Linked DNA regions of Homo sapiens: all the other regions are linked to region 1. The links are contacts of gene promoters, found by promoter capture Hi-C in blood cells and fetal thymus (Javierre and others, 2016). All regions are on one chromosome and are shown on one strand. The core of a region is centred on a gene start or on the middle of the fragment in contact, and the rest is flanking DNA. Distances in the headings are between cores, read along the strand shown.

Region 1 (4,981 bases), core at 786-3,285:
CCCATCCCAGTCCCTCAATTACTGATTTCTGGGCATCCTCAAAAGTCTTCTCAATGGCTGTGATCTGGCTATCCCTGTCTTTGTATATTTCTTCCTCGGTAAACTGCTGCTTCACAGAAACCCCAATCCTAGGAATGAAGAAAAAGGTCCTTAGGGGCCACTGGACACACCTAATATCTCCACCTTCCCTCTCTTCCTGTTAGTAACTTACTTGACCTCAGGCTTCTCATTGGAGATGCCATAACGGTTGAACTCAGTGGAGATGTACTCTGTCTTTCGCATCCATGGCACCACCTTCGCGTGCTGCTGGGATCTGGGGTGGGAAATCAGGTATCTCAGGACCCCACTGCCCTCCTGCTTGTAGGGCCCACCTGAGCCAGTCTCCAGTACCCATTTGCTACCCACTCACCTCTTGGAGCTGGTGGGGGCCTGAATCTCCTCTTCCAAAAGTTTCTCATCAGCTGGATCTAGAAGAACTAGAGGAGAGCGGGGGGCAGGAGGACCATGAGGGAGGCCCAGGCCTGAGCCTTTGCTGACCTAGAGCAGACCCTCCCTGTCTCCCCACACACCATTGGGGTCGATGCGGTAGGTGTCAGGATTGATGAGATCGATGGTGACCCCCAGGTCTGGCTCAGTCAGGAGGTCATGTTTGTGCTGTTTCTCCAAGGAAGTGGCTTTGTACTGGACGAACCTGGGTGGGGAAACACCTATTGTGGTGTTTGGATTCCAGCTTCACCCCTCACAGCCCTGCTTCCCAGAGGCGGAGCTTCTCTGGGGAGGAACTCAGAATGAAGTGTCCCCCATGGCAGAGTCTGAAAGCTGGCTCCCCAGTGGGAAGGGACTTGGACACTGCTTGCTCCATTAACAATTGAGCAGCTACTACTATGTGCTAGGGTAGGTACTGTGCTAGGCCCTGAGCAGACAGCAGCCAACGAGACAAGCAGTCCCTGCCTTCAAGGAACTCATACCTGAGTAGTTTTCCCATTCCTTAGTCTCACCTGTTCTGGTCGAAGGGGTAGGTGATGAACTTGGGGTCGAAGGGGATATCAGGGAGGCTATTGCAGTACTTGACTCGGCAGACCACTCCAGACCTAGGAACATTAGTGGCTCAAAAGTGGGCCCCCGCTGCCCCACCTCTGCTCCCAGCCCCACTGCCCCACCGCTCCTGGGAAAGCACAGTGGGGCTCACCTCTCAGGCAGAGTCCGGTGGGAATTGGGCCTAGTGGAGAAGAAAGAAACAGTGATAGGTGGAGAGGACGGGATTGACAGGAGAATGAAAAAGGCTTCCCCAACCTTTCAAAAGGTAGGAGGGGTGACAAATGCTGGTTTCTTTGGGTGGTGGTGTGGGGAGTGTCCAAATGCTTTAATGGAAGGAGACAAATGTTCAATTTATTTAGGAAGAAATGCCCCCAAAAGCTTTAATGAACAAGGCCAAGTGCTCAATCCCTTTTGCAGGAGATGGCTTCAAGTGCTTTAATAAAGAACCATGTACTCAATCGTCTTCGGAAGAGGGGTCTCCAAACGGTTGACTGGAGGGATCCCTTCTGGAGGGAGTCTCCAAAAGCCTAATCCCTGAACTGCACGGCGGGGAGGAGGGGAACACCTGAATCTCAGAAGGAACCCGCCCCCTTCGTCAAAGGTGAGCGCTTCATGACGTCACGGGCAGACCTGGGGGCTGGTGACGTTGTTCAGCAGAAACCCTCTCCCGATCCCCCGCCTTGCTGCAACAGAAAAGCGTGGCGCCTACCTGTGGCCATCCTCCCGCTGGGCCTGGGTCTGGATGGTGGGCGCCATAGCGACGAGGCGACGGCAGCCCGGACGGGGTCCTAGCGGGACCGAAGGGGGACGCAGAGGGGCGTGCCGACTTCAGGGGACGCCTGATCCGAGGAAGGCCCAGCTTGGCGCCGCTCCCCGCGGAAAGTGGGTTGAGATGAGGTGGGCGGGCGAGAAGAGCTCCAGCGAGACTCAGGTGAACGCGCAGGCAGCACCGGGGACGGACTCGAAGCTCCGGTTCCACCAACTGCCGCCAAGACGCTGAGGACCCAACGGGTCTCCTCAGGCCGCGACGCCTTCGGGGAAATGAAGTCCGGCTCGGAACCACACACGGATTGGCGAGCGTCTGGGTGAAGGGCGGAGCGAGGGAGAGAGGTGCTTCTGTGATTGGTGGAGAGATATCTCAGTCTGGACGCAGATTTGAGAGTGACGTAACGTTGGGGCACCTCCTTCCCCTCCATTGGCTTAATTGCCTAGGGGGCGGGACTAACTAGCAAACGGGGACTAGAAATAGGGATGCTGAAAAGCAACGGGGAGAGACGCAGTCGTAACGCACTTCCGGCGGTCTACGCGAGGAAGATGGCTGCATCCCAGCAGCAAGCTTCAGCGGCTTCCTCAGCTGCTGGTGTATCGGGTCCTAGTTCGGCTGGCGGCCCGGGTCCCCAGCAGCAGCCGCAACCGCCAGCACAACTGGTGGGCCCTGCCCAGAGCGGCCTCCTGCAGCAACAGCAACAGGACTTCGATCCTGTGCAGCGTTATAAGATGCTCATCCCGCAGCTGAAGGAGAGTCTACAGGTGATTGGCCTTAAGCAGCGAGAAGCAAACTGGATTTGGTAGTCTAGAGGGGCAGGCCGAGGGCCAGGTTAGTCGGAGAGAGCGCTAAGCAGAAAGAGGAATAGAACCTGCTGTTTTGGCCTGGCTGGTGCACGCCTGTGTTCCCAGCACTTTGGGAGGCCGAGGCGGGCGGATCACTTGAGGTCAGGAGTTCAAGACCAGCCTGGTGAAACCTCGTCTCTACTAAAAATACAAAAATTAGCCGGGCATGGTGGCGCGCGCCTGTAATTACAGCTACTCGGGAAGCTGAGGCAGGAGAATCGCTTGAACCCAGGAGGCGGAGGTTGCAGTGAGCCGACATCGTGCCATTGCACTCCAGCCTGGGCAACAGAGCGAGACTCCGTCAAAAAAATAAATAAATAAATAAATAAAACTGTTGTTTTCTGCGAGACCTAAGCGAAGCTCGGCAGAGATGGGATCAGCGCTGATGCTGAGGCTGGGACTGGCCGGAGCTTGAGTGAGGGGTTGTTTAAAGGAGAAACTGGGCTCTGGTCGTTAAAGCCTGAGGAGAGTACTGGCTTATACGGAGATTCTGCCCTTGATTGATAGGTGAGGGAGGACCCTTAGGTTATTGGCGAGAAGCTCAGGTGAGAGCGGGCCTCTGGGAGGATGGAGTGGTGACAGCTATAGGAATGGAAACGAATATTACTTTGGAAAGTCAGGAGGGAAGGTGCCAGTTGAAAAGAAAACCTGAGACTGAGTGATCTCAAGAAAGAGTGTAGATCTGCCAGAGGTATTCCCTTTTGTTTTTCCATTTCCCACGTGTTTTGTTTTTGTTTTGACTAGACCTTGATGAAGGTTGCGGCCCAAAACTTGATTCAGAACACTAACATCGACAATGGACAGTGAGTGCAGCCCCCTTTACCAGGATATTCTATTGCCTTCCCAGTCTTTGAAATTCATCTTTCCTTCTCCTGCTCCCCGCCCACCTCACCTTCTATATTTACTTTTTTTTTTTTTTTTTTTTGAGACAGGGTCTCCCTCTGTCACCCAGGCTGGACTACAGTGGCACGATCTTGGCTCATTGCAGCCTTGAACACCTGAGTTAGGAGATCCTCTTGCCTCAGCCTCCCAAGTAGCCAGGACTACAGACATGGCTACAGACTACAGATGCCTGGCTAATTTGTAAGATTTTTTTATAGAGACGGAGTCTTGCTATGTTTCCCAGGCTGGTCTCAAACTCCTGGCCTCTAGCCATCCCCTCAGCCTCACGAATCACTTCTCCTATTTTATTTTATTTTTGTTGTTGTTTTGTAGAGACAGGGTCTTGCCACGTTGTCCAGGCTGGTCTCAAACTCCTGGGTTCAAACAGTCCTTCCACCTTGGCCTCCCAAAGTGCTGGGATGACAGGCATGAACCATCATGCCCAGCCTTTTCCTTTTCTTTCTTTCTTTCTTTCTTTTCTTTTTTTTTTTTTTTTTTTTTTTTTTTTTTTTGAGACAGAGTCTTGCTCTGTCGCCCAGGCTGGAGTGCAGTGGTGTAGTCTCAGCTCACTGCAACCTCTGCCTCCCGGGTTCAAATGATTCTCCTGCCTCGGCCTCCCAAGTAGCTGGGACTACAGGCGCGTGCCAGCACATCTGGCTAATTTTTGTATTTTTAGTAGAGATGGGGTTTCACCATGTTGTCCAGGCTGGTCTTGAACTCCTGACCTCAGGTGATCTGCTCGCCTCGGACTCCCAAAGTGCTGGGATTACAGGCGTGAGCCACCGTGCCCAGCCTCCTTTTCTTTTTTTTTGAACCCCTCCGGTTTTCAACCACTACTTCAGATCTCCTGGACCTGTACCTGGTTTCCTGATGGACACTTGGTTGGGTAGATACTGGTGTCCCAAAGATTAGAAATCAATTCTTCAGACATCCTTTTTTCCTTGTCTGTAGAAAGAGCAGTGATGGACCCATACAGCGCTTTGACAAGTGCCTGGAAGAGTTCTATGCACTCTGTGACCAGCTGGAGCTGTGCCTGGTAAGAAGCCTTCTGGACACGGGGTAACAACAGCCGTGTCCCAGTCTCTGGGGTCTTCAGAAACAGTCAGTCAGTCAACTCACACTCAACTGGGGACCTCCTGTGGGCCAGACCTGTGCTTCCACCAACACTGAGGACACAGGGTTGCTCTGATCCTTGCCCTTGCAGAGCTTTCAGTTGAGTGGAATAATAAGCACACCCCTAAACAGTGACAGCTCAGAGTGGTCAGTGCTGTGATGGGAGAAGCCTAGGCCAGAGTGGTTAGGGTTATGATTGAGGAGGCACAGGCAGAGGGATCAGGGCTGGGATGGGGAAATCTCAGTGTGGAAGCCCAGGGTGGGGATAGGGAGAGAGTGGCTTAGGGAAGGCTACTGCTAGACAGCACATCTGACCAAGTCTGAAACAAAGAAGAGA
Region 2 (4,981 bases), core at 722-3,221, 2.0 Mb after region 1:
TCGAGACCATCCTGGCTAACACAGTGAAACCCCATCTCTACTAAAAATACAAAAAAAAAAAAAATAGCCGGGCATGGTGGCGAGCGCCTGTAGTCCCAGCTATGCAGGAGGCTGAGGCAGGAGAATGGCATGAACCTGGAAGGCTGAGCTAGATTGCACCACTGCACTACAGCCTGGGAAACAGAACGAGTCTCAAAAAAAAAAAAAAAAAAAAAAAAGGGACTAGGACTCAGGCCTGAAGACATGATAATGCCAAATGGCCACATCTGTTTCATAGACATTCATCTGTGCCACGCAACAACATACCCCAGGCTTTACAAACAAGACCCCATCAAAGTCTTGTATAAGCCAGGCAAACACTGAATGAGCACTTCCTATTCCAGCCCTATTCCTATTCTAAGTGCTGTTGATACTCGTTTAGTACTCATGACAACTTCAACAGGTAAATATTTCTATGACTCTCATTGTACAAACAAGGAAGTCGAGGTGAAGAGAAGTGCCCAAGTTCACATAATCAGCCCAAGGGTGCCTTAACAAGCAATAACTGGTTTTGAACCCAGGCAGTCTGTGCTCTTAACCTCAAACCTGTGCTGCTTCTTAGCTACTATTAGCTTCACTTTGAAACAAGGAAACTGAGGCTCAAAGTGGTCGAGTCCAAAGGTCTCCAATTAATAGGTGGGGGAGTTAATATTTAAATGCAGATCTGGCAGCCCATGACCCTAACCATTACACTATACCATGACTCTATAGGGCCTCAGTTGGGGAAGCATGAACAAAATTACTTTCCTGGGACGTGGCGGCTCACGTTTTTAATCCTAGCACTTTGAGAGGCTGAAGTGGGTGGCCTGTTTGAGCGCAGGAGTTCGAGACCAGCCTGGGCAACATAGCGAGACCCTGTCTCTACAAAAAATAAAAAAAATTAGCCAGATTTGGTGGTGCGTGTCTGTAGTCCCAGCTTCTCAGGAGGCTGAGGCGGGAGGATCACTAGAGCCCGAGAGTTCGAGGCTGCACTGAGCTATGATCACACCACCTTACTCCAGCCCGGGCGCAGAGAGAGACCCTGTCTGTATCCCACCCCTCACACACACAAAGATGGGAGCTTGAGACTCATGTGGACAGGGTGTGGGCTGGGCCTGGAGTACTGAGAACTGATGGAAATGAGGTTAAGAGTCTGCGTTAAGGGGTGGAGGAAGGAGCATGTAGCCTCTAGGCTAGGGGTCTTGGTGTGGAAATGAACCAGGCTTGGGGGAATACCTGTGTGAATGCCCCACTTGCAGAAGAGGCTACTTTCCGAGAAACCGCTGGCCCCTATGATCTGCCCGATCACGTGCACCTCAGCCATGGCCCTGGGAGGGGAAAAATATAATCACAACCCTGTGAGGTAAGTGTATTATCTCCATTTGACGGGGGGGAAACTGAGGCCCAGCAAGTAAAGGGTAGTACTAGGATTCCAAGCTAGCTTCGTCACACCCCTGAGGCTGAGGTCTTGACCACAGATCCTAATTGCCAACCCATGAAAGCCTGGAAAAAATGGGGGGACCCTTGTCTGGGGAACCAGCATTTAACTCTGGGAAGTCCAAAATAACCTTTTCGGGTTCAGGTCGGCGGAAAGCCCCGCCCGAAGGGGCTATGGCTCCGCCCACGAGCGCAAAAGACCCGCCTTCCGCGTCACGCCAGCCACCCCGCTTCCCTCCCCCAGCAAGCTCCATAAGGCGCATGCGTTATGAGTTCAGGTCCGACTTAACCCCGCCTCTAAGCGCAGCGCATGCGTCATTCCTACCTTAGCGCACTTAACGGTTAGGAGAGGAGAAAGCGGCAACCGGGGTTGTAGTTCATGGGCTTGACTGCTTCTTTTCTCCGCGGGCGCCGACCAGGCCTGGCTCGCGCCTCTCCCAGGACCCGCCTGGCTGCGAGATATGTAAGCCGCGATACTTCCGCGACCGCGCTCGTCTTGGTTTCCGTGGTTGTTGCTGGGGCAACAGCAGGCTCCTCCCCTAGCTTTGTACTCGCTCTGCGCGCTACTAATTGGTGCTAGCCGTCTGCGGGGGGCGGGGTGAAGCTGTGATGGACATTTTCCTCCTCCGCTCCATTTTGGGAAAATAGCGTCTCTCCAGCTACGGCAAAGGGTTCCGCCATTTTGGGCGTGGCTAGGAAGCTGCCATGTTGAGTGTGGCTGAGGAAGTTTGAGTGCAGTTTCTCCCAGATACCTTCTTTACCAAAAAAGCAAATCCCTAACTGCTCCGTGCTGCGCCTACCCCACCGAAGAGCTCTCTGTGGTCCGGGATCACAAATCAGAGATTGAACCAGGACCAAGGGGGAATTCCTTCCAGGACCTCGTGTACATCCCCGGCCTTGTAACTGGAAAACAAAGCAAAAAAATCACTCCTCATTCAGAGAGTGGAGAAGTTGGGGAGTGGGTTCTGCTTCCGTTTTAGAGTTCCCCTAGGTTTCTCAAGGACAAGGAAGGAAGGAAGTTGGATAAGTCCAACTTCCTTCTCGGAGCTACTACCAAGTTCACTGTTACTGCTTGATTCTGAGCAAGGAGCGGTTGGGGTAGCGAAGAGAAATGAGGAACTAAGATTCCCTTATTTGCAGAAAATCCTCTTTCCTATTGATTGATTTATCAATCAAGAAATGGAGATGTTGTCCCTGGATGCCATCCTAGATGCCATCATTTCCCACATCAAGCCAGTCATCAGGTCCCATCAAGGCTCCTTAAAAGGGTCTCACTCTGTCACCCAGGCTGGAGTACGGTGGCTCGATCACAGCTCATTGCAGCCTCTTAACTCCTGGGTTCAAGGGATCCTCCTACCTCAGCCTCCCATGTAGCTGGTATCACAGACATGCACCACCACGGCTGGCTAATTCTTTTTTTTTTTTTTAAGAGATGGAGTCCTGCTATGTTGCTATGTTGCCCAGTCTTGTCTTGACCTCCTGGGCTCTAGCTATCCTCCCAGTTCTCCCTCCCAAACTGCCGGGATTACAGGCGTGAGCCACCCAGCCAGGCCAATAGATACAAAGTATTTACAAGCTACCATTGGCTAGGCGCGGTGGCTCATAACTGTAATCCCAGCCCTTTGGAAGGCTGAGGCGGGAAGAGCTCTTGAGGCCAGAAGTTCGAATATAGGGAGACCCCATTAATAATGCATATATCAACTAGTGAAGTATTCCATTGAATTGTTTAATATAAATGTTATCCTATTGAAATGTTGTACCCTCGTTATAATTTTGGTTTTTTACTTTTTGAGATGGCGTCTCCCCCTGTCATCCAGGCTGGAGTGCAGTGGTGCGATCCCAGCTCACTGCAATCTCTGCCTCCCGGGTTCAAGAGATTCTCCTGCCTCAGCCTCCCGAGTAGCTGGGACTACAGGCGTGCACCACCACACCCAGCTAATTTTTGTATTTTTAGTAGAGACGGGTTTTCACCATATTGGCCAGACCGGTCTCAAACTCCTGACCTCAGGTGGTCCACCCGCCTCAGCCTCCCAAAGTGCTGGGATTACAGGCGTTAGCCACCGTGACCGGCCGGGTTTTTTTTTTTTTTTTTTTTTTTGACAGAGTCTCCCTCTGTCGCCCAGGCTGGAGTGCAGTGGCATGATCTCTGCTCACCACAACCTCCGCCTCCCAGGTTCAAGCAATTCTTCTGTCTCAGCCTCCTTAGTAGCTGGGATTGCAGGCACCCACCACTATATCTAGCTAATGTTTGTGCTTTTAGTAGAGATGGAGTTCCACCATGTTGGTCAGGCTGGTCTCGAACTCCTGGCCTCATGTGATCCTTCTGCCTCAGCCTCCCAAAGTGCTGGGATTACAGGCATGAGCCACCTCGCCTGGGCCCAGCTACTTTTTGTATTTTCTTTTTTATTTTATTTATTTACTTTTTTTTTTTTTTTTTTTTGAGACAGAATCTTGCTCTGTTGCCCAGGCTGGAGTGAGCCTCTGCACCTGGCAGAGGTTTCACTTTTAAATGATCTTTCTGTCCTTTAAGCTGGAGCTGGGGAAAATGTATTTATTTATTTATTTATTTCTGGATGCTGTGTGGGTGAGGTAGACAGCTCTAACCTTTCAGCTCTTGGGGCCCCTGGTCCCCTAGTGGTGGCACCAGCCTTGCATTCTCTTTTCTCAAGCCCCCATTTTGTCCATCAGGAAATCTTACTGCCTCTACTTTTGAAATACACCCTAAATCCCACTTCTCACCTCTTTGTCGCCCTGCACCTTGATCTGTCCAAGTTCATCTATCACCTGGACTATGACAGGGACCTTGTCTCTGGGGTCCCCTTTGCCAACCCCTCTAGTTTGCACCCCACATGCAGCTGGAACCCTGTGAACACCTAAGTCAGGTCCCATCTGCTCAGACCCGTCCAGTGGTCCCCATTTCACTCAGGGTAAAAGCCAAAGTCTTATCATGCATGACAAGGCTCTCCACAACCTGGCTGGCACCTCCTGCCTCATTTTTGTATTTTTAGTAGAGACGGGGTTTCGCCATGTTGGCCAGGCAGGTCTCAAACTCCTGACCTCAGGTGATCTGCCCACCTTGGCCTCCCAAAGTGCTGAGATTACAGGCATGAGCCACTGCTCCCGGCTGAGGTCTTCATTCTGAAGGCTCCCATGTATACATGTTAAATAAAAGAAAATAAATTATCGTCAACTATAAATAATGAGATTCAGAAAATATGATTGAGGCCGGATTCGGTGGTTCATGCCCGTAATCCCAGCACTTTGGGAGGCCAAGGAGAGTGGATACCCTGAGGTCAGGAGTTCGAGACCAGCCTGGCCAACATATAGCGAAACCCTGTCTCTACTAAAAAATACCAAAACTAGATGGGTGTGGTGGCACATGCCTGTGGTGTCAGCTATTTGGGAAGCTGAGGCAGGAGCATCACTTGAACCTGGGAGGCAGCAGTTGCAGTGAGCCGAGATCACGCCACCGCACTTCAGCCTGGGCGACAGAGCCAGACTTCTACTCTCAAAAAAGAAAAAAAAG
Region 3 (4,981 bases), core at 1,133-3,632, 1.1 Mb before region 1:
GCCCGGCCTCTTTTTTTTTTTTTTTTTTTTGAGAACGACTCTCGCGCTGTTGCTCAGGCTGGAGTACAGTGGCACAATATTGGCTCACTGCAAACCCCGCCTGCCGGGTTCAAGAGATTCTCCTGCCTCAGCCTCCCGAGTAGCTGGGACTACATGCTCCCGCCACCACGCCCGGCTAATCTTTTTGATTTTTTCACCGTGTTAGCCAAGATGGTCTTGATCTGCTGACCTCGTGATCCACCCGCCTTGGCCTCCCAAAGTGCTGGGATTACAGGCATGAGCCACTGCGCTCAGCCCTCCTTTTGAGTTTTTGTGTTTAAAGTTCAAAACTGGACAGATGCAGTGGCTCACGCCTGTAATCCCAGCACTTTGGGAGGTCAAGGTGGGCGGATCGTGAGGTCAGAAGTTCGAGACCAGCCTGGCCAACATGGTGAAACTCCATCTCTACAAAAAATACAAAAATTAGCTGGGCGTGGTGGCGGGTGGTGCCTGTAATCCCAGCTACTCAGGAGGCTGAGGCAGGAGAATTGCTTGAATCCAGGAGGTGGAGGTTGCAGTGAGCTGAGATCACAGCATTGCACTCCAGCCTGGGCAACAGGTGAAACTCTGTCTCAAAATAAAATAAAATAAAGAAAGAAGAGGCCTATACCTTCTTCCAAGCCTTGACGGCTCAGCACATACTTCTCTGTTTTCATGCTCAAGCCTAGGTTTAGTAGGCCTGAGTGGCAGTGGGAGATTCAAGTGCTGGGGGAGACCTTTGGCCTCACATTCAGATTCCACCTTGAGTCCCATGATCTCATTGCAAGGTTAGACTTCCATTGTTTAAGGTAAATACCATTTTGATAACTCAGTTACGGCTTTTCATGTATTATTATGCTAGGAGGGAGGCTGAAGAGTGGGAGTGGCCCTGGCTCCTGAACACACTATTCTCTTTCCTGCCTGAAGGCCTCCGCATGTGCCATTCCTGATTCTTGGAATGTTTGTCCCTTGGCCTTTATCATCCTTCAGAGTTCATTATCAAAGCCACCCCTCACAAAGCCCTTCCTCCGCCACCCCATTCAAAAGATCTCTTGTTATTTTCCATCCCAGCCCCTGATTCCTTTTCTGTATAGCACTGTCAAAGTGTTTTCAGGCCAGGTGTGGTGGTTCACGCCTGTAATACAACACTTTTGGAAGGATGAGACAGGAGGATCCCTTGAAGCCAGGAGTTTGAGACCAGCCTGGGCAACATAGCAAGTCCCCTGTCTCCACAAAAAATTTAAAAATTAGCTGGATGTGGTGGCTCACATCTGTAGTCCCAGCTACTTGGGAGGCTGAGGTGGGAGGATCCCTTGAGCCCAGGAGGTCAAGGCTGCAGTGAGCCAAGATCACTCCATTGCACTCCAGCCTGGGCAACAAGAGCAAAACTTCCATCTCAAAAAAAAAAAAAAAAAGAAATAATCTAAAAGTGTTTTCAATAATAATGCATTTATGTTGATTACCTTGTTGGCTATCCTCTACTCGTGTGCCTGCCCCACTCCATTCCCCTTTCTAGAGTCTGTTCACGTAACTCCTCTTCCAGGAAGCCCTCTTTGACTCCCAGGCTTGGTCAGGTGTCTTCTCTGGGTTTCCCCAGGGGCTTCCTTCCTCTCAATTCTGATGCTGCCTGTGCTAAGTATTTGTCTCCATATCTGTCCTGAGAACCTTGGAGCCAGGGCTCGGGGCTGTTTTTGCATGGGCCTATCACCTCCTCCAGGAAGCCCTCCTTGGCCCTCTCTCAGGCTGGATGGGAAAGCTGTCTGGGCTCCCATCATGCCCTGGTTTTCTAGCGACCCAGCCTCTGATCCCTAAGCTTGGCCTTCCCCATCACAGCTTTCATCACTTTGTGCTAAGCTTCCGCTATCACTACTCTGGGCCGTTCCTGTTTGGTGACTCAGGGACCAGTCTGGCATGGCCACCGCTGGGTCCCCAGCATTAAGCCCTGGAGCATGAGCCCAGTGAACTTTGAAATTCAGGAAGGAATTCACAGGAAAGCTGCGGCGAGGCGGGCAGAAAACCACAGGCTTCCAAGAAACGCGTGTCTGCCGCCCCCTCCTCCCACCCTGAGGCCAGTCCTAGAGCGAAGGCCCTCCTCCGACGTCGTCACCAAGCCCAAGGGAAGGGTGGCAGGTGCTCAGCGGGCAGACGCCCCGCCCCGCCCCGCCAGGTTCTGTTGGGGGCGAGGCCCGCGCAAGCCCCGCCTCTTCCCCGGCACCAGGGGCGGGCCCAGGTGCGCCCAGGGCCGGGGAGCGGCCGCGCAGGTGCCTGCCCTTTGCGCCTGCGCCCAGCTCGCCCTGCCTAGCCAGGTGCGCCCCGCCCCCTGCCTGCCCGGCCACCTTCGGGAGCCGCTTCCAATAGGCGTTCGCCATTGGCTCTGGCGACCTCCGCGCGTTGGGAGGTGTAGCGCGGCTCTGAACGCGCTGAGGGCCGTTGAGTGTCGCAGGCGGCGAGGGCGCGAGTGAGGAGCAGACCCAGGCATCGCGCGCCGAGAAGGCCGGGCGTCCCCACACTGAAGGTCCGGAAAGGCGACTTCCGGGGGCTTTGGCACCTGGCGGACCCTCCCGGAGCGTCGGCACCTGAACGCGAGGCGCTCCATTGCGCGTGCGCGTTGAGGGGCTTCCCGCACCTGATCGCGAGACCCCAACGGCTGGTGGCGTCGCCTGCGCGTCTCGGCTGAGCTGGCCATGGCGCAGCTGTGCGGGCTGAGGCGGAGCCGGGCGTTTCTCGCCCTGCTGGGATCGCTGCTCCTCTCTGGGGTCCTGGCGGCCGACCGAGAACGCAGCATCCACGGTGAGGGCCGGGCGGGTAGGCTGGAGGCGGGGCGCAGGGGGCAGAGGCTCGGGGGTCAACGGGGGTCTGAGCAGGGAGAACTGGCGGGGGAGGAAACTGGGGGCTACTTGATGGCGTTCAGCGGGTGTGGTGGAACCAGCCCTGGAGGATTGAGCCTTGAAATGAGGTTTGGGAGCCTTCGACAGCGAAGACGGGCGGAGGAGCGAGGGTTAGGAGAGTTTCCTTCGGGTGGAGGAAGAGTCAAGGGGTATTGACCAAGAAGGCGTGGCACTGCCCCTTCCTGTGGCAAGAACGGGGTGAGGAGCCGAATTGAAGACCAGCCTTCTCCTGGCGGTGGAAAGTTCCATGGCCAAAGCTCAGGGAGAGGCCAGGCCTGTGAGATGGTGGGGGTTGGGTTGGGTGACCTGGTGGCCGTTTTAGACTCGGAAGAAGCCCATCTCACCCCTGCCTCTTTGGAGATTGGACAAGAGCCTCCCCTGAAGTTTTTGTAGTTGAGTTGCAGTAAAGTAGGTGCCCGAGAAGGAGGGAGCAAGAAAGGAAACAAGCTTTGGGGAAGAGGAAGCTCTGCTAAGGCTCGAGAGAGTATTGGCGTTGAGCAGCTGGTGTTGGGGTCTTTGGATTGGCCCTTAGAAGTCGGTGGTGAATAAGGTGATTTAAACTTCTACACTCTTAAGGAAGTGTGGTCTGAAAGGTCTCTTTGAACAAGTGTTGTTATAACCTTAACTGCTTCAGACAAGCACCAGCGTGTTTTGAAAAGAGCTCTCTTGAAAGCAAGAATTCATTGATTCAGCAAAACTTACTGAGGCCCTGCTACGTGTCAGGCACTGGCGCTGGTTATAACAGTTAACTCAGACTAGCTGGGTTCCTGCATTCACAGAGCTAATATTCCAGTGGGAGAGGCAGAGCTAGTGAAGGTTTAAAAAGCACTTGCCATGAGATTAAGTTACTGAGAATTAAATGAACCAGGTGAAGTACACCAACAGGGTGACGTAAGATGTTGGGGGCGGCTTTAGCTCAGGTGGTCGGGGGACGTCTCCGTGAGGAGGGTGACATCTGAGCTCTAACATGAAGAATGAGGCAGTAGCCACACGGAGACCTGGGGGACCAGTGTCCAGTTGCAGGCAATAGAGTACAAAGGCCTTGAAGCTGGAACAAGCTTGGTTGGGTTCAGGGAAAAGACAGAGCCAGCCTGGCTGGAGCAGGCGTGAAGGAGGGGAGGACTGGAGGAGGATGGGAGGTGGGAGAGGTTGGCTGCAGCCAGATGGCCTAGGGCTTTATAGACAGGTGCTGGTGCTTGAACCCGGGAGGCGGATGTTGCAGTGAGCCAAGATCGCGCCACTGCATTCCAGCTTGGGCAACAAGAGTGAAACTCCCATCTCAAAAAAAAAAAAAGAAGGCCGGGTGATGTGGCTCATGCCTGTAATCCTAGAACTTTGGGAGGCCAAGGCGGGCAGATCACTGGAGGCCAGGAGTTCAACACCACCCTAGGCAACATGATGAAACCCCGTCTCTACCAAAAATACAAAAATTAGCTGGGCATGGTGGTGCACACCTGTAGTCCCGGCTACTCGGGAGGCTGAGGCAGGAGAATCGCTTGAAGCCCAGAGGCGGAGGCTGTAGTGAGCTGAGATCAAGCCACTGCACAGCAGCCTGGGCGACACAGCAAGACTCAGTCTCAAAAAAAAAAAAAAGAGCAGGCTAGGTGTGTACCAAGTCATCACCTGTGGTAACTTCTGGGGACTGGTTAATTTCTCTGTGCCCTAGGCAGGAGAAAAAAGTGAATTGGTGGGGAGAGGCTCAGCTGTAGGTGACTGGGAGTCAGGAATGCAGACGTTGATCATTCTTGCAATTCGAACCAGAATTTGGCAGCTCTGCTGGACTTTTTCAGTTTAAGTAATTACGTTAGGATGTACCTCCCAGTTACCTGGCCTCTTGCTACCTCTGGTGCTTACTCTGAGCTGGGACATGGCCTCTTGCTACCTCTGGTGCTTACTCTGAGCTGGGATGTGCCATTTAACCTTTGAAACAGCCGGGTGCGGTGGTGAAGTTACTTGCCTTGCCCGAGGTCACTCGGTAGTAGTAATTGACAAAGCCAGGTCTCACTGCAGAGGCCTTCTCTGTTCAGAGTGGCCTACCTGACTGCTGCTGCCGACTGGACCTACTGACCTTTCAG
Region 4 (4,981 bases), core at 1,708-4,207, 1.1 Mb before region 1:
TGGGCTCAAGCCATCCTCCTGCTTCAGCCTCCTAAAGCATTAGGATTACAGACATGAGCCACAGTGCCCGGCCTTAAAGTGAATATTTAGAGTGAGAAAAGGAAACCCAACAAGTTAGGTGAGAAGAACCAGGTGTCTCTCTTGGAATAGATCTTAAGGCAGTTTCCCAGAAATTCATAAAAATGTTCTCACATTGCAACCTGGTTCCCTCTGTCCACCAAAAGCATTCTACAACCCCCAGCAACTCACAGCACACAGGCGCACCTGCAAGTGAAGAGCCCTGCCCACCTAGCGTCCTTAGTCTCTCCTCTCTCTGACTCTCAGTCTCCCCCCTTCTCTCCCTCTCAGACTCCCCGACTTATCTCAGGAAAACATAGTGGTGGAAGTTACTTCTGCGCAGCGATAGCGCATCCGGAAGGATGTCAGCAAGTGACCCTATCGCTGTGGCTTCCTCTTCCTCCTCTGAGACGTTGTCTTTTTGGAGACCTTAAGGGCTGCTCCTGGTTTCTCAGTGATGAGTGCTGGCTCCACTGTGGTTCCTTTTTGTGAGCGAAATGCCCGCATTCTTCTTCACCTCTGATTTAGCCTCTGTCCCCTGGGCTCCAACACCATTTTCTCCTCATCCTCAGCCCTCTCTTGCTCTGGTTGCTCCAGATACATCTCTTCCATAAATGTTTTTTTTTTTCTTATTGCTTTTTTGTTTGTTTTTTGAGATGGAGTCTTGCTCTGTCGCCCAGGCTGGAGTGCAGTGATGCGATCTCGGCTCACTGCAACCTTTGCCTCCTGGGTTCAAGTGATTCTCCTGCTTCAGCCTCCCGATAGCTGAGATTACAGGCGTGTGCCATCGCACCTGGCTAATTTTTTGTATTTTTAGTAGAGACAGGGTTTCGCCATGTTGGCCAGGCTGGTCTCGAACTCCTGACCTCAGGTGATCCACCTGCCTTGGCCTCCCAAAGCACTGAGATTACAGGCATGAAACACCGCACCCAGCCTTATGTATATATATTTAATTAATAAAGCAAGTACTGCCAAGTGCAGCGGATCACGCCTGTAATCCCAGCACTTTGGGAGGCCAAGGCGGGCAGATCACCTGAGGTCAGTTTGAGACCATCCTTGCCAACATGGCGAAACCCTGTCTCTACTTAAAATACAAAAATTAGCTGGGTGTTGTGGCGGGCATCTATAATTCCAGCTACTTAGGAGGCTGAGGCAGGAGAATTGCTTGAACCCAGGAGGCAGAGGTTGCAGCGAGCCGAGATTGTGCCATTGCACTCCAGCCTGGGAGACAGAGCGAGACTCTTGTCTCAAAAAAAAAAAAAAAAAAAAAAAAAAAGCAAGTTCATTAGTTCATTGGCTTCCTGCTGGCCTCATGTTCACCCCTTACCAGTTGTGTGACTACTACTTTTTATTTTTTTGAGGCAGGGTCTACTCTATCACCCATACTGGAGTGCAGTGGTGCGACCATAACTCATTGCAGTCTCTAATTCCTGAGCTCAAACGATCCTCCTGCCTCAGCCTCCCGAGTAGCTGGGACTACAGACGCATGCCACCACACTTGGCTAATTTTTGTATTTTTTGTCGAGATGGGGTTTTGCCATGTTGCCCGAGCTGGTCTCAAATGACTACTTCATTTTTAAGCCTAAATTTTCTCATCTGTTTAGTGGGAATTATATTGGGACGGGGTTGAGAATTCAGTGCAAGTTCAGGTGTCCACAGGGCCTGGCAGAATGTAAGCCTTCGATCACTGGCACCTATTGTGTTACTGATTCTATTATCAGGTGCCTCTGCTTCTGGATTGTCAACCCCAAGTTGGGCTCTGCCCGGTGATCTGCCAGCTCTTTAATAGAACCAGCTGGGACATGTCTGAGCTGAGCCCCAAGCCCCACTCCTCTGCCAGTCGGATGGGGTTAGGACTCTGGGCTGCCCTCCAAAAGGCTGTCAGGAAGGCGCTGAGTTCTGGCTGGAGGCAGAAGTGGAGAGACTTACGGGGGGGCGCAGAAAGAAAAATTTCCTCTTAAATAGAGGCGTGTATTTGTGATTCTGCCTGGCTTGTTTCCATTCATCCTTCATGCTTCAGCTCAGCTAGCCCCTTCCTCAGGAAGCTCTCTTGACCTCCCTAGGCAGGGGTGGTTGCTTCCTCTGGACTCCCAGGGCCCTCTAGGGCTCCCTGATTCCAGGCTTGATCATTGTACCCTTGCTTCCCTCATCACAGCCCTGACCACTCTGGGCTGTCTTTTTTCTTTTTTTTAGAGATAGGGTCTCACTCTCTCCCAGGCATAGCTCACTGCAGCCTCGAACTCCTGGGCTCAAGCAATCCTCCGACCTCAGCCTCCCGAGTAGCTGGGACAACAGGCGTGGGTCACTCTTGTGTCAGTCTCCCAGTTAGACTGGGAGCCCCATGAATGCATGGCGCAGGATGGTCTCATCATTACTGAGTCTCCAGGATCATCCAGCGAGGGGTCAGCAGAAAGTGGGCATTGAACAAAGCTTTGGTGAGTAGCTGAGGATCCCCACTCTGTCCACACGGGCACAGGGGACACCTGACTCTGTGGTGTCCGCTGTTCCCACTCCGAGGCTCACAACTTGGCGAATGGAGCGAGAATTGGATTTCAGTTTGCCCCTTGCTCCGTCAGCCGCGCGCCCTGATGCAGTGCACAACCTTAGCTGCTGTGCGCGATGGGGGGCGACTCCTCGGCCTGCGAGCAGAGAGGAAAGTTCAGATTCTTCTAACATAGAGAACCAGCCTTCCAGGAGGACGAGAAGGAAGGAATGAGGGGAAGAGAGGACTACCTCCACCCTTTCCATCCCGTTGGTCTGCTGGGTCTGGGAGCACTGGGCTCCACCCTCTCCGAACGAACACCTGGCGGTTGGGCGTGCCTCAGTTTCCCGGAGGCGGGGCATTCCTCCGTCGCCGCCCCCCACCTCCCCTTTTTCCTCTTCCTCTTGGGGCATCTGCTGCCGCGCCTGTAGCACTCCCGGAACTGGAACTAGGTGCCAGACGGTCCGGAGGCGGGGGCCACGTCAGCGGGGCCACCCAGGGCTCGCGGGGTCCCGGTGGGTGCCATGCGGAGGGGCGCGCTTCTGGCGGGCGCCTTGGCCGCGTACGCCGCGTACCTGGTGCTGGGCGCGCTGTTGGTGGCGCGGCTGGAGGGGCCGCACGAAGCCAGGCTCCGAGCCGAGCTGGAGACGCTGCGGGCGCAGCTGCTTCAGCGCAGCCCGTGTGTGGCTGCCCCCGCCCTGGACGCCTTCGTGGAGCGAGTGCTGGCGGCCGGACGGCTGGGGCGGGTCGTGCTTGCTAACGCTTCGGGGTCCGCCAACGCCTCGGACCCCGCCTGGGACTTCGCCTCTGCTCTCTTCTTCGCCAGCACGCTGATCACCACCGTGGGTACGTAAGCGCCTCACCGCAAGGCGGCGAGGACCCGGGATCCCCACTTCATCCTTAACCCCTGGGGACCCCGGGGCCCTCACGAATACCCTTATCCCAATCCCCTCTGGGCTTCGGATCCCCCGAAAAGACCCCAGTGAGGACCCGGGACCCAGGCTCATGATATCTGCTCTGCTCGGGGAGCCCAAGTCCGAGCCCTTCCTCCTAAGTAGGAAACACCCAGCTCCCCTCAGAGTACCTTTGCAGAGACCAGCTGGGACCCCGTTCCTCGGTCTTTTTTTTTTTTCTTTTCTTTTTCTTTTTTTGAGACAGGGCTTACTCTGTCGCCCAGGCTGGAGTGCAGTGGCACGATCTCGGATCACGGCAGCCTCCGCCTCCCGGTTTCAAGCTATTCTCCTGCTTCAGCCTGCCGAGTAGCTGGGATTACAGGCACATACCACCATGCCTGGCTAATTTTTGTATTTTCAGTGGAGACGGAGTTTCACCATGTTGGCCAGGCTGGTCCCAAACTCCTGACTTCAGGTGATCAGCCCGCCTCGCCCTCCCAAATTGCTGGCATTACAGGCTTGAGCCACTGCACTGGGACTGCATTCCCCGGTCTTAATCCTCTTGGTGACCCGGGTCTGTCCAGCCCCCTCTAAGCCTAGGACTGTCCTCAGAGACCTCCAGCAAGGACCCAGGACACGCCACCCTCCAAGGGAGATCCTTGCCCCCTCTGGACCCAGAACTCAACCATGCCAGGACCCCTGACTTTATCTCTAGTCTGGGCCTGCCACCCTTGCCATGTCTCCTGACCCTCCAGATATGTCCTTCTGGGAAACCCCCCTGGAGAAACCCCATCTCAACCTCCTCCTGACCCTGGCGCCTTAGCGAGGACCCTAAATCTCCAGACCTCTCAGGGTGTCCTCACTAAAGACCTCCCTCCCAACAGAGATTCCTCAGCAAGGACCTGGCACCGCCATCTGGGACTCCTGGCCCTCTGGACCTGGGCCTCTGCTCCAGACTGTCATCTGTCTCCTGGCCCCATACTCCCCAGCAGGCAACTCTGACCCCAGACACAAAACCCTTCCCTAGGTACCCCACCCCATCTTGACATCTCCCCTATATGGGGTCACTCTCAATGCAGGATTTTCCTCCCAATAGGGACACCACCTGTTCCCTCTGGACCTGGGACTCCCAATTCAGCAGCCCCAGCTAGGGATGTGTCAAAAGGACCCACCGTGGAGGGACCCCGAGTTTTGGGAAACCCTGAGAAGCCAGACTTGGGAAATCTCTTTGTTGCCAGGCTCTGCTGCTCCCCCAGCCCCTTCTCAGCTCCCAGACTTCCTCTTTGTTTCTTTGTTGGGGATTTGTTGAGGAGAGGAGGCTGGTGCAGGGTTAGCCCAGACTCCTAACTCGCCCTCCCGGCCAACAATAGGGGGCAGCTTTTGCTTTTGGTCCCCTGGCAGCAGAGCTGGGTGACTTCTCGTTAGCTGACCTCCCCTGGGTCTGCCCATGCTGCCAGGGCGGCCTGACCTGCTTCTGAGCTTCCCTGGGTCATGTGCACGCCTCCTACCTCTTCCCAGATCCTGGCTTCTAAGAAGTCATCCCTGGCAG
Region 5 (4,981 bases), core at 1,197-3,696, 1.0 Mb before region 1:
TCCAGGTGAACACATCATAATCCTGTATCAGCCAAGTCAACATGTTATTTAAATATCACCATCTGCACTTCCAGCCAAGATAGAGTGACAGAGACTGGATTTCCCCTCATACTTGAAACTATTTATGTTTTTTGAGATGGAGTCTCGCTCTGTTACCCAGGCTGGAGTGCAGTGGTGTGATCTCGGCTCACTGCAACCTCCGCCTCCTGGGTTCGAGCGATTCTCCTGCCTCAGCCTCCTGAGTAGCTGGGACTACAGACGCATGCCACTATGCCCGGCTAATTTTTTGTATTTTTAGTAGAGACGGGGTTTCACTGTGTTAGCCAGACTGGTCTCCATCTCCTGACCTCGTGATCTGCCCGCCTCAGCCTCCCGAAGTGCTGGGATTACAGGCATGAGCCACCTGGCCTGGCCATATCAACGTGGTATTTTGTTTATTTGTGTCTTTTTCTTTTTTTTTTTGAGATGGAGTTTTGCTCGTTGCCTAGGCTGGAGTGCAATGGTGCGATCTTGGCTCACTGCAACCTCCACCTCCCAAGTTCAAGTGATTCTCCTGCCTCAGCCTCCCGAGTGAGTAACTGGGATTGCAGGCACCCGCCACCATACCTGGATAGATAATTTTTTGTATAGTAGAGACGGAGTTTCACCATGTTGGCTAGGCTGGTCTCAAACTCCTGACCTCAGGTGATCCATCCACTTCAGCCTCCCAAAGTGCTGAGATTACAGACTTGAGCCACCACACCCGGCCATCATTTTTGTTTAAAACATTTTTTACCACCACAACTTCTTTCACATATTAATTTACTCATTAATTCAACACATATATAATTTCTTTCTTTTTCTTTTTTTCTTTTTTCTTTTTTTTTTTTTGAGCACAGTCTCGCTCTGTCACCCAGGCAGGAGTGCAATGGCGATCTCAGTTCACTGCAACCTCTGCCTCCCGGGTTCAAGTGCTTCTCCTGCCTCAGCCTCCCAAGTAGCTGTACTACAGATGTGCACCACCACGCCCGGCAAATTTTTGGTATTTTTACATTTATTTATTTATTTTCTCTGAGACAGAGTCTCACTCTGTCACCCAGGCTGGAGTGCAGCGGCACAATCTCAGCTCACTACAAGCTGACCTCCTGGGTTTAAGCGATTCTCCTGCCTCGGGCTCCTGAGTATCTGGGATTACAGGTGTGTGCCACCACGCACAGCTGGTTTTTTTGTTTTTTTTTTTTGGTATTTGCAGTACAGATGGGGTTTCGCCATGTTGGCCAGGTTGGTCTCGAACTCCTGACCTCAAGTGATCTATCTGCCTCGGCTTCCCAAAGTGCTGGGATTACAGGCATGAGCCACCATGCCTGGCCAACAAATATTTATTGACTGTCTACTAATATTTGCCAAGCACTGAGATACTGGGAATTCAGTAGTGAAGGAAATCGTCCTGCCTTCATGGAGATGACATTCTAAATGGTGGAGACGGAGAGTGAAAGTCGGGTTTGAGAAAAACGTGCTGCCCAGGCGCAGTGGCTCACACCTCTAATCCCAACACTTTGCGAGGTCAAGGCAGGAATATCGCTTGAGCTCAGGAGTTCGAGACCAGCCTGGGCAGTATAATGAGACTCTGTCTCTATAAAAAATTTAATTTTTTTTAAAAAGAGAGAAAAAGCGATGTTGAATGTGCAGATGTAATATCAATCAGTGGAGGAAGAAGTTGGTATAAGAAGTTGTGAATACTGGCCAGGCAAGGTGGCTCATGCCTGTAATCCCAGCATTTCGGGAGGCCAGGGCCCAGGGAATCGCCTGAGTTCAGGAGTTGGAGACCAGCCTGACCAACATCTACTAAAAATACTAAAATTACGTCTCTACTAAAAATACGAAAATTAGCCAGGCGTGGTGGCACATGCTTGTAATCCCAGCTACTTGGGAAGCTGGGGCAGAAGAATCACTTGTACCCAGGAGGCGGAGGATGCAGTGAGCCAAGATTGCTCCATTGCACTCCAGCCTGGACAACAAGAGCTAAACTCCGTCTCAAAAAAAAAAAATTGTGAATCCTCCACTTACACATGACATTGAAAGCCATAGAGCTGGATGAGTTTTGTAACTAGTTAGTTCATATAAGCTTGGGAAAAAAATGTGGAAGGATGCATTGAAAAAGACTGGAGAGGGAGCCCCAGGTACACATCCTAGCTGTTAGTCCTTTGGAAGGTTACCCAGCCTCTCAGTCTGTCTATAAAATGAGAATAACACAGCTCTCCAAATGGCACGACACCCGCTACCTTTTGGCTTGGAGACGCTGCCCCGAAGGCGGAACCTCCAGGACAGCTACGTAGCGTCCCGAGCACTCAGACTGAAGCCAGGGCAGCCATGTTCATTATTGGAACCGTGAGGTGGGTAGGGGGGGTGGTGTTGAGACAGCTGTCATTTTCAGTTAGGGCAAAAGCCAACTTCCGGTCACCATCTTGAGTGACGACAGAGGCGGAGCTCCAACTGACATGTTCATTAAGGGCAGGGCTCCGAGGGCGCCACCTCGAGAGCGACGGCGGGCTACCCGGGGCGGGCTGAGGCAGGTTGTAGCCCCGCCCCGGGCCTTGGGCTCCACCTCTCGGCCCCACTTCCGCCGGGCAAGCGTTTGTAGGCGGCGCTGCCGTAAATCAGGCGGTCTGCTTGCCGCATCACGCAAGATGGCGGCCGCGGCGGTGAACGGGGCGGCAGGCTTCTCGAGCTCCGGGCCCGCGGCAACCTCGGGCGCTGTTCTGCAGGCCGCGACCGGCATGTACGAGCAACTCAAGGGCGAGTGGAACCGTAAAAGCCCCAATCTTAGCAAGTGCGGGGAAGAGCTGGGTCGACTCAAGGTAAAGTCGGCAGGCCCAGGAAACCGAGTGTTGCGGGCGTGGGAGGCGCTACGAGGTGTCTGGACCCAACCAAGTCCCGGGCCGCGGAAGCCACCTCGGTGCCAGCGAGACTGAGGCGGGCTGGGGGATCCGATGGGGTGAAAGATTTGGAACAGCCAAAGTGGGGGCTCGGAGGGCGTCAAGAAGCGAGAGAGGGACAGGGAGCGTTGATGGTCACGCCTGTAATCGCAGCGCTTTGGGAGGCCGAGGCGGGGGAGCGTCGCTTGAGCCCAGGAGTTCAAGATCAGCCTGAGCAACATAGCGAGACTCTGTCTCTACATTTTTTTTTTAAGTGAGAGATGACTGGAATGGACCCACGCGGGGGTGGTGGGGGAATGATTGGAAGACTTATGGCAGAACTGAGTGAGGGGTTAGATTTTTGGTGCGTGGAGGCTTAACTGGTCGGAGTGGCAGGATTGGGATTCGGGCTTTTCCTGATGGTGGATTCCAGGCAAGACCAAGTGGGAAGTGAGGACTGCCCGGAGTGATAAAAGAATGAGGCTGAAAAGGTGGGCTGTGTAGAGGGTGTGTGGTTAAGACCAGGCTGGGTTAGGATCTGAGAGATCTGGGGCTTAGGCTCGCATCTGTTGGGAGAGGGGGCAGCCTAGTTGTGAAGGCAGGACTGAACCTAGAAGAAATATTCTTACAAGTAGAGAACAAGAATACGGGGCCCAGAGTGCTTCAGACCAAACATCTGTTGGGAGGGAGTGTAAATCCAGTGGCTTGGAACAAGCTGCTGAGCCTGCTAAGGAAAGATGTATGGGCTGAACTGTGGGGGGAGATTTGGACCTCCCCCTCCCAGATATAGATTTTGGGGATAGCCCAGCTACCCCTTCCCCAATAGATTGTGGGGAAGATGGGCCAAGAATGGAATGTACTCCTGTCCCCACCGCCGCGTGATTCCACTGGGTCAGGCACTGAGTGTCCCTCCTTGTTTCCCCAGTGGGGCTATTAATAATTGTAATGTGATGTAATCTTAAATGGGCATGTGTTGCGTGCTCAGGCCCTGTTCTGAGTGCTTTATGAGAAAGCATTCCTCATGAGTCTGGATGATGGTTAGCTCCATTTTCCAAGTGGGAAGACCAGAGCGTAGAGCAGGTAAGTCATCTGTATTTGAATTCCCTTCTTTTCTTTCTTCCCTCCCTCCCCTCCCCATCAGCTAGTTCTTCTGGAGCTCAACTTCTTGCCAACCACAGGGACCAAGCTGACCAAACAGCAGCTAATTCTGGCCCGTGAGTGTCACTGGGGTTGGTTGGGGGTGATAATCTGGGGGTCATGGCAGGAATGGTAGCACTGGTGGTTGGGGAAGAGACCTCAGTCACCTCCTGAGAGCTCACTCTGTCACCCACAGGTGACATACTGGAGATCGGGGCCCAATGGAGCATCCTACGCAAGGACATCCCCTCCTTCGAGCGCTACATGGCCCAGCTCAAATGCTACTACTTTGATTACAAGTGAGAATGGGCCCTGCCCCCAACTGGGGGGGTGGTTGCATGGAAGCTCCTTTATTTCTGGAGCTCTGGCTGCTTGGGTCCTCTTCCTTCATCTGGGAACTCCTCCTGGCTTAGTTCTCTCCTCAGTGGTGCAGGGTCAGGGCTTGGCTTGGAGGTCCTGAGACTTGGCTTGACTAGTCAGTCTCCCCCTACCCATTCCCACATTGCACCCCCTCTGCCCAGTGGGGCTGCCATCACCTTTCACGTGTCCTGGCCCCAGCCTTGCCCCTCTGACTCAAACCCCTGTGGCAGCCAGTAGGATCATGTGACACTAAAATTTGACACTGTCCATACCCCGCTCAGAACCTGCCGTGGCTCTTCATGGTCCTCAGGCACAAGACCAAGTTCTTTCCTGTGGCTTCCAATGCAGTTCCAGCTCACACCCCTCTGCCTGTGCCTGCTCATCCCAGCCCTTTCTCTCACTGGACTGTGAGCTTTCTAAAGGCAGAGCTTGGAACTGTCTCAGTTACTGCTATGTCCCTAGCACTGCCTACCACAGGGCCAGGCCCAGAACAGGGACTCACTGGATATGTGTTGAATATAAAACTGAATGATACCTGCACAGATTAATGATTGGGAATTTGACATCAGACAAATCTGGCTTTGAAACAT

Evidence for each region. Contacts are between HindIII fragments. The CHiCAGO score rates a contact against its expected background, and 5 or more counts as called.
Region 2: the fragment with the promoter of B9D2 here is called in contact with the fragment with the promoter of PAF1 in region 1 in 1 of 17 cell types (activated CD4 T cells); the score reaches 5.8 in activated CD4 T cells.
Region 3: a contact is called between the fragment with the promoter of SPINT2 here and the fragment with the promoter of PAF1 in region 1, in 1 of 17 cell types (total B cells). The highest score is 6.3, in total B cells.
Region 4: a contact is called between the fragment with the promoter of KCNK6 here and the fragment with the promoter of PAF1 in region 1, in 1 of 17 cell types (neutrophils). The highest score is 5.2, in neutrophils.
Region 5: the fragment with the promoter of PSMD8 here is called in contact with the fragment with the promoter of PAF1 in region 1 in 4 of 17 cell types (fetal thymus, total CD8 T cells, naive CD4 T cells and 1 more); the score reaches 7.7 in fetal thymus.

The regions. Positions count from the first base shown.
Region 1 is chr19:39,389,071-39,394,051 of GRCh38, forward strand. It overlaps PAF1 (PAF1 component of Paf1/RNA polymerase II complex), which reads right to left and starts at 2,036. Exons shown (of 14, transcript NM_019088.4): 1 at 1,748-2,036; 2 at 1,190-1,219; 3 at 999-1,091; 4 at 570-691; 5 at 410-476; 6 at 212-313; 7 at 23-128. The coding sequence starts at 1,794. It overlaps MED29 (mediator complex subunit 29), which reads left to right and starts at 2,308. Exons shown (of 4, transcript NM_017592.4): 1 at 2,308-2,568; 2 at 3,394-3,452; 3 at 4,483-4,567. The coding sequence starts at 2,353. It also overlaps a transcript of SAMD4B not described here. RefSeq lists a silencer at 694-825 and an enhancer at 2,363-2,652. The HindIII fragment of the contact is 958 bases long and covers 1,415-2,372 here.
Region 2 is chr19:41,362,178-41,367,158 of GRCh38, forward strand. It overlaps B9D2 (B9 domain containing 2), which reads right to left and starts at 1,972. Exons shown (of 4, transcript NM_030578.4): 1 at 1,781-1,972; 2 at 1,255-1,346. The coding sequence starts at 1,342. It also overlaps a transcript of TMEM91 not described here. RefSeq lists an enhancer at 1,828-1,947. The HindIII fragment of the contact is 18,483 bases long and covers 1-4,981 here.
Region 3 is chr19:38,262,191-38,267,171 of GRCh38, forward strand. It overlaps SPINT2 (serine peptidase inhibitor, Kunitz type 2), which reads left to right and starts at 2,383. Exons shown (of 7, transcript NM_021102.4): 1 at 2,383-2,808. The coding sequence starts at 2,703. RefSeq lists enhancers at 1-873, 1,014-1,931 and a silencer at 2,088-2,407. The HindIII fragment of the contact is 1,481 bases long and covers 1,871-3,351 here.
Region 4 is chr19:38,316,888-38,321,868 of GRCh38, forward strand. It overlaps KCNK6 (potassium two pore domain channel subfamily K member 6), which reads left to right and starts at 2,958. Exons shown (of 3, transcript NM_004823.3): 1 at 2,958-3,385. The coding sequence starts at 3,064. It also overlaps a transcript of YIF1B not described here. RefSeq lists an enhancer at 2,786-3,409 and a silencer at 3,051-3,140. The HindIII fragment of the contact is 18,756 bases long and covers 2,486-4,981 here.
Region 5 is chr19:38,372,125-38,377,105 of GRCh38, forward strand. It overlaps PSMD8 (proteasome 26S subunit, non-ATPase 8), which reads left to right and starts at 2,447. Exons shown (of 7, transcript NM_002812.5): 1 at 2,447-2,837; 2 at 4,036-4,108; 3 at 4,228-4,330. The coding sequence starts at 2,478. RefSeq lists enhancers at 2,356-2,986, 2,617-2,756. The HindIII fragment of the contact is 10,393 bases long and covers 2,103-4,981 here.